Regions from separate parts of the Homo sapiens genome. Here region 2 is linked to region 1. Evidence: promoter capture Hi-C in human tissues and cell types (Jung and others, 2019). All regions are on one chromosome and are shown on one strand. Each heading gives the region's core, a stretch centred on a gene start or on the middle of the fragment in contact. The rest is flanking DNA. Distances are from core to core; before and after follow the strand shown. Region 1 holds the start of OTC (ornithine transcarbamylase). Region 2 overlaps RPGR (retinitis pigmentosa GTPase regulator).

Region 1 (3,844 bases), core at 245-2,744:
AACAGGTATTATCCTTTTTTCCATTTTATAGGTGAAACAACATTGCAGAAAAGTTTAGTGACTTGTTCAAGGTCATATAGCCAGCAAGGGTGGTGCTAGGCCTTGAACCTAGTTCTTTAAACTTTTCTCCAGGTTGTTATCTGATCTAACTCTGGCACTAATTGGTAAACCCCACAGTCATTCTGGGCTTTTTTTACCTTATACTTGAAATAAGAGAAGTGAAACAATTTCAATTGAATATTTGAGCTGTTTAAGAAATAAAAATCACATTTCCTCCCAAAATAAAATAAGAGAAGGCATTATTTCATGGCTCTGAGGTCTCAACTAGGTCTAATATTATGGGCTTAATTTACAATATTATTTACGGTATCATTCTGACTTCTGAGAGCCTTATATTCACTAAAGAAGTAGTGCTAATGGTGGAGTCCAGAGAACCTAGAACTGTCAGCTGCTCCAGAGAAGGGATGCCCAGGGCCACTATCACAGGTCCACTTACTAATAATAAAAGAAAACTTCAGACCAAAAGCTTCTTCCTTAAGGAAGTCGGGAAGGTTGCTTTAGGTTATAAAGAGGCTCTGAAGAAATTCTGTCTCATTATTAACATGAAACTGTTCTAGAAGCTTTCTGGTAGTGATGTCTCCACCTGATGGCCTTGTTTACCCAGCTAACTCATCTCCCCTGTTCCCTTCCCCTTCCCCTTTCCCTTCCCCACAGACACACTCCATGCCATCTTCAACCACATGCACAATGGTTGTAAGCAGGATGTAAACTTTTATAATGAATTCATTGGAGACAGCCTGCTTTGCACATGCCAGCAAGAATTTCAGGGATGGTTTTCAAACTTGTATTTTATTTAAAAATGTCGTTATCCCCATCACATATAAGGCGTCTTTGCAGCAGCTTTGTCAGTATTTATTAGTTGCTACTTGGAGTCTGTTTTTTCAAAAGAACTGATTAGTCTCAACATCTTAGAGTGATATATTGTTTTATAGCAAGCCCAAATATAAGCTGAAGGCCCTGTGTAAATTACTTCCCCTAATTTCCTTCAGCCACTTGCTCGTTTAGAATGTACACAAACGAAAGATGTCAAGAACGTTTAGTCTGTTATACCTGCCATGGGTGGCTTCCCCTACAGCACACGGTGAAATCTGATTACAGAAGGACTGAGAAATGAAAGCTTTGCTGGAATTAGAGGCAGCTGTCTCAAATAAGAGTAAAGCAGAGCGTGGCACTACATTCTGCAGAAAGAGGCCTTACTGCAGAATATAGTTTTATGCATCACCATGATTCCTAAATCAAACCCAAGTCTCTGACCATCACTTACCGAAAATTTCGAACCATGAAGTTGTGACCATTTCTAAAAGCTGCATTGTTTAACAGGATCCTCAGATTAAACAGCATCTTCTTTTAATTGTGTAAAGGACGATTCTATGCCCTTGAAAACTCCACAGCAAGTTAGCCAGCGGGGGCCACCTAAAAACTAAGAAATGTGTTCAGTTGCAGTGAGGGAGCAAAGGTAATATCACCCTTCAGCTTCCTTATCAAAGTCCCCTGGTTAGAGATACTGCAGGGCAGGGTGTAGGAGCATTTGAACTTTATGCCAAGCTCCACCGCTGTGTATTTTTTTTGGAAGAAATCCTGACTCTTTTATTGCCTGGCCTCCTCATTTTTCATAATATATTTATACTGTCACACGCATGTACAAAATCAATTGACAAGTACTCATTGAGGATATAATATATGCAAGGCACTGCGGTACCGGCTGCTGTGAAGGTGAGTAGAAGTAACTCACTCAGAAAATGCAAATTGGCACTGCAAAAACACAGATGTAGATGTGACAGTCCTGAGTAGTACTATTTCCATTTATTTCACTTTTCTACCTCTAATTGCCAGTCTTTCCACAAAAACAAATAGAAAGAAGTGCCCTGGAAGCTATTTTGGGGGTGCAAGATGATAGAGAAGGTATAGTAAAAATATCTCAGTCCTGGAGCTCCCTTTGTGCCTTGCACATAAGTCTTCAATAAAGAAATAATTGCTGGCCGGGCACGGTGGCTCACGCCTGTAATCCCAGCACTTTGGGAGGCTGAGGCGGGCGGATCACTTGAGCCCAGGAGTTCGAGACCAGCCTGGCCAACATGGTGAATCCCCGTCTCCACTAAAAATACAAAAATTAGCTAGACGTGGTGGTGCACACCTGTAATCCCAGCTATTTGGGAGGCTGAGGCATGAGAGTCGCTTGAACCCGGGAGACAGAGGTTGCAGTGAGCCCAGATTGCACCACTGTACTCCAGCCTGGGTGACAGAGAGAGACACTGTCTCAAAAAAAAGAAAGAAAGAAAGAAAAAGAAAAGAAATAGTTGCCTATTGATTCTAACAGCACCTGACAGTCAGTACAAGTGGGAAGTGGGGATACCATATGCTCTTCCCCTAGCAGCCTATTCAGATCACTAAGGGGCCATCTGCAACTTCACATTTATTCATTTATCCTCAGTTAGAAATCAGGTGATTCAAAGTCAATTCTGTATCAGATACCGAGCTGCACTGAAGTTTCAGAGAGGGAAGATGACATCATCTTTGCAGAGTTCACAGTTCAGTAAAGGTGGTATGATTTATAAACAAATATCCATAATACAAGCCCATAGGAGAGGTCCAGACAAAGTTGTCTGGCTTCGAAGAAGCGGGAGCCCTCTAAGGTAGGAAGGGTAGGAGGAAGGAGAGGAGGGGCAGGGGTAGGGCTGCCTCTTCTGGTCAATTTATATGACTTTAGCAAACCCAAGTAAATATTTTCCAGAAGTTTGTGGAATACCAAAAAGTGTTATTTAAAGACCAACTATGGCCACCTCAGGAGCCGAGATGTTTGTGATGTCATAATTAATACTAGTAGAGAAATAAATATTGTCACCATTTCCTTCTACTTACAGAGAATGATGTGAGATAAAGTGAGGGGAAAGACTGACATTTCCCAACCTCTACCAAATCTTCCATTCTGGAAAGGATATTCCAGGCAGAAGCAACTGCTTGCAAAGGTACAGAGGTGAGAAGGGAGAGAGTGAATTTAAAAAACATAATAAAGCATCTTTGAAGAGGCAAACAAGGCCAGTTATTGAATAGGTTTCAGAGAGCAAAAGCGCTCCACATAATACAGGAGTGAAATTGAACGTTTGCATGGAGCCTGAGGGAGATGAGGCCAAACCACAGGCTAATATAAAGCCCATAGCTTGACCCCATATCTTCACTGAACTGTGCTAGCCATACACACAACTCATATTGGTAATGCTTGGGGAGAAATCAAGAAGTGTCTGCAGTTCCATGCTAGAGAGTACAGGCAGCATTTCTGAGATGCCAAAGCAACTCACAAACCCTCCTAATGCTACAGATGCAGGAGCTCAAAGCCAGAGGGAACTAAAAAAAAGTTAAGATACCAATAACTCCCAGAGGGATTGGAAAAGGGGAGCTGCATCACAAGTGGGATGAAGTTAAAAGCAATTTCACTGAATCTCAAAAGGCAGGGCATCTCAATGAACTTGTTGAGGGGTAGATTTCAACTACCCAGCTTCTGCTGATTATGTCACATGTGGAGTCTGTTTTACTTTACAGGCTTTGATGTTCATCCTCAGAATTCATCCAGGGGCTCTTGTTGACCCCATGATTCCTCTAATTCAATTTTAACTTTCTTGTTTCACTACCTATCTAGTTCTCTTTGTTCACCTAGCCTTTCATTCATCCATTTTTCTCTGCCACCATCAACAATTGTGCAGCCATCATAAGCCAATCCTCTGTGCTGTGTGGGTTCTGAGAGACAGAGTGATAAAACAGGAATGATGAGTTCCTTCCAATATTCACC
Region 2 (4,003 bases), core at 1,466-3,965, 40 kb after region 1:
ATTTTTTTTGTATTTTTAATAGCGACAGGGTTTCACCATGTTGGTCAGGCTGGTCTTGAACTTCTGACCTCAGGTAATCTACCCTCCTTGGCCTCCCAAAGTGCTGGGATTACAGGTGTGAGCCACCGCGTCTGGCCCCACATTTTCTTTATTCAGTCATCTATTGATGAACACTTAGGTTGCTTCCAAATCTTGGCTATTGTGAACAGTGCTGCAACAAACATGGGAGTGCAGATATCTCTTTGATATACTGGTTTCTCTTCTTTTGGGTATATACCCAGCAGTGGGATTGCTGGATCATATGGTAACTCTGTTTTTAGTTTTTTGAGGAACCTCCAAACAGAATAGTTTATTTCCTAATAAAAATACAGAACATATTACTAAGATAGTTATGTTTAAGACTTCCTACAGATTTTTCACCTACTAATATGTTTAAATGCTCATGTTCGTGTTTTAAATTCATGTTCTCAATTCAAGTTCATATTATAAATTATATAAAATATTCAATTTTTAGATCTTATAGATAAATAAAATCTATGGAGTTTTCAGGTATTATCCCTGATTGCTGTGTCTTTTCATCTGATATGTTAATGGTTGGGTCTGAGCATTTTAACCAGTGATTCACTGAATTAGGTGTAGTACAATAGGGGATATAAGTAAATGAGTTGGGGTTATGGGAACTGGGGGCAGGAATTTGTGGAGCAATCTTCAGATACTGGAGAATAGAGACTTGGCAGTGTGCTTAAGATCAGAATCCTGGGGAAGGTAGCTGTCAGAGCCAGGTAGAGAGTTTGAGGAATCCAGATTTTATAAAAATTAATAGGCCTAAGTGAAGTAGATATAATTGATATGAAATGACCTATTTATTCTTTGTGATAAATGTTATTTTATTTTTTATATATAAATAAGAAAAATACCTTGGAATTAAATAAAACATTTTATATGGATTAAAAGCACTCACCTTCCCCTTTAAGGAAGGTCCTACTGATAGCTACAGGAAATATCTTTTCTAACCCTTTACAGCAAGCTCGTCCAACCCGCAGCCTAGGATGGCTTAGAATGCCGCCCATCACAAATTGTAAACCTTCTTAAAACATGAGATTTATGCACAGACCTTTTCTTTTTTTAGCTCATCAGCTATCGTTAGTATTAGTGTATTTTATGTGTGACCAAAGACAATTCTTCCAGTGTGGCCCAGGGAAGCCAAAAGATTGGACACCCCTGCTTTATAGGTAAAACATTTTACTTTAAAAAGTCGACACTGTGAGAAACTTCATCAACTTACTATGTAAAAGTCATTTTAAATGATATTTCTTACAATACCAAGTTGATTAAAATGTAGTACCTACCCTTCTGAAGTTTACAGTCAAACTATAGGATGTATAGTTTTTCCATGTACAAAGCATTTTCAAGTACGAATATATTTCATTTAATCTCCCAACCACTCTGGGAGAGAGGTGGTGGTATCTGAGATTCCATATATGCAGGCAGGTTTAGAACACAGTTTTATTCAAGGTGATGCTGCGATTGAGTTGCAGAATCAGAATTCGAACTCCAGTCTTCCAGTTCTAAAAGCCTGAACAATTTCTACTGACATGCAGTTTCTCTCCATATACAAGAGGAAGAGGAGGATGTGGTAGCAACTAATAATGACCAGGCACTGATTATGTGTTCTATGTGCCTTTGAATGCATTAATTCGGTTATTCCTATGAAACAACCCTATCACATAGGCACTTTTATCCCCATGTTACAGGCCCAGTGATTGAACAACTTGCTCAGTATGACTCAGTAAGTGGCAGAATCCACATGCAAACAAGGCAGTCTGACTCTGTAGCACATACTTTTTGCTACTGTGCTAGACCAATAACTGCAATATACAGCAGACCATGATTGGTAACGTAAGACATTTGATAGCAGAGTCTTACGTGAGAACAAGAAAGAAAAAATATTATTTCTTGTTAGGGGCGTCAGGACATATTTCAGAGAAAGGGTGGTATTTGAGATTAACCATGAAAGATGGAAACAACTCTGAGAGAGACAGAGATGAGGGAAGAACAATCCAGGCAGAGACAAAAACATGTGCAGAGATATAGAGACAGAAAAGTAAATCATGTATTTGGAGATTATTGCATAGTTGAGTTTGTTTAGAGGTTGTTTGTTTAGAGGTTAGGGATCATGGATCCTAAAGGAATGTAAACCCCTGAAATGATATGCTAAATTTGGTAGGTGCATTTTTTTTTTTGAGCTAGGTCTCACTCTGTTGCCCAGGCTGGAGTGCAGTGGCATAATCACGGCTCACTGTAGCCTAGACCTTCTGGGCTCAAGTGATCCTCCCACCTCATTCCTCCGAGTAGCTAGGACAAAGATGCGTGCCACCACACTCGGCTAATTTTTGTATTCTTTGTAGAGACTGGGTTTCACCATGTTGCCCAGACTGGTTTCAAACTCCTAGACTCAAGCCATCCACCAGCCTCGGCCTCCCAAACTGCTGGGATTACAGGCATGAGCCATCACACCCTGCTGGGATGTGTACTTTTTTTATAGAGCTGTCATCAAATTCCCAAGGGAGGATGTGACTCAAAAGAGAGTCACCAGGTTGGGGAGTAGATAGAAATATGACTGGTTAGTAGTCCGGGAACCTAATATGGAAGGTCTCTTGTAACAGTCTGCAGTTTGTACTTGATACATGTATTTTTTTTTTATTTGGAAGTGTCATAATTAGAGCCTTGTTTTTGGAAGATGCATCTGATATTGTGTGGGTATGTTAGACTAGAGGTAGGAAAGACATTTGGAAAACTTGATCCAGGTGAAAATTCATGTTAAGGTGTAAAGGGAATCAGGAATCTATAGACAGAAATGGAGAGAGACTCATCAGGACTTAGGAACCAGTTTCCTATGGGAGGCAACAAGCATGGGAAAATGGAAGGGTGCTAACTTACTGGGCACCACTTTTGTGCCAGTGTTTGCTAAATACTTCATAGAAAACTGTGGTCCATAAAACTTCATTTTCTGTGCAGATCAATTCAGAAAATCAATATAGCTGTGTTTACAGTATTTGAGCAAGTTCTAAGTGGTGCATATCTTGTGCATTGGCTGTCCCACACCTTCCTGAAGTTCTGTGATTTTCTAGAAGGACTCACAGTCTTCAATAGCGATTATACTTACGAATAAGATTTATTACAGCAAAGGATACAAAGCAAAAAGAAAAAGTGGGAAAAAGATAAGCATCTGCAGTGGAGTCCAGAGAAGTCAAGCTTGGGCTTCCTAGTACTTTCTCTTAGGAAACCACACAGGGCATGTTTTCTTAGCAGTGAACTACAGGGACATGTGTGGAATGTCTCTGCCCAGGGAAGCCCATTCTGTTGCTTCTAGGGGATTTAGGGGGCTGGTCATGTAGGCACCTCCTGCTAGCAACTGGCCACAGCAGCTGAAACTCAGGACCCTCAATAATGAAGCCAGGTGCACATCATCAATGTTGATGTTTGTGCAAGCAGCCCTGACAAACCTAATCTGGCATAGTTCATTGCTCTGGTATATATAACAAAATCATTAATCATTCACATAAAGAACACTCCAGGGGCCACCTTCTCAGGGGTTGGGCAAGGATCAATCATGGTTCTCTCAGAGACTTGCAAAGAATAAGCAAGCAGATCTGCTCTGTTGTCTCTTTGCTTATACCAATGGTGATATGTTCCATGTCATTCTTCAGATTGGATCATATACTTACACAAGGTTTTTAAATTCTACTTTATAGAACTCAGTTAATTGCATAGAAATGAATAAGAAAGTTCTTGCTTTCAAGAAGTTCACAGTCATAATACAGTGTGATAAATGTAATAAAGAAGCAAATTAATAGCGTTAGTATGGACAGGGCAGTGATTAAGTGTCAGGAACTCCTTGGTAAGAGTCTTTGGAGGAAGTGCCATCTAAATGGGTAAAATCTGCTATCTTAAGATTTACTTAACATATTTACTGCACACATAAGTGAGTTTTCTAAAACCA

The links. Contacts are between HindIII fragments. The study calls those that stand out against the background at their distance.
Region 2: a contact is called between a fragment that was not itself captured here and the fragment with the promoter of OTC in region 1, in 1 of the 25 tissues and cell types used here (ovary).

The regions. Positions count from the first base shown.
Region 1 is chrX:38,350,254-38,354,097 of GRCh38, reverse strand. It overlaps OTC (ornithine transcarbamylase), which reads right to left and starts at 1,494. Exons shown (of 10, transcript NM_000531.6): 1 at 1,325-1,494. The coding sequence starts at 1,401. The HindIII fragment of the contact is 4,808 bases long and covers 900-3,844 here.
Region 2 is chrX:38,311,182-38,315,184 of GRCh38, reverse strand. All of the region lies in intron 6 of RPGR (retinitis pigmentosa GTPase regulator), which reads left to right. Among named protein-coding and RNA genes, the nearest start is that of RPGR, 14 kb to the left of the region's middle. The HindIII fragment of the contact is 7,823 bases long and covers 1-4,003 here.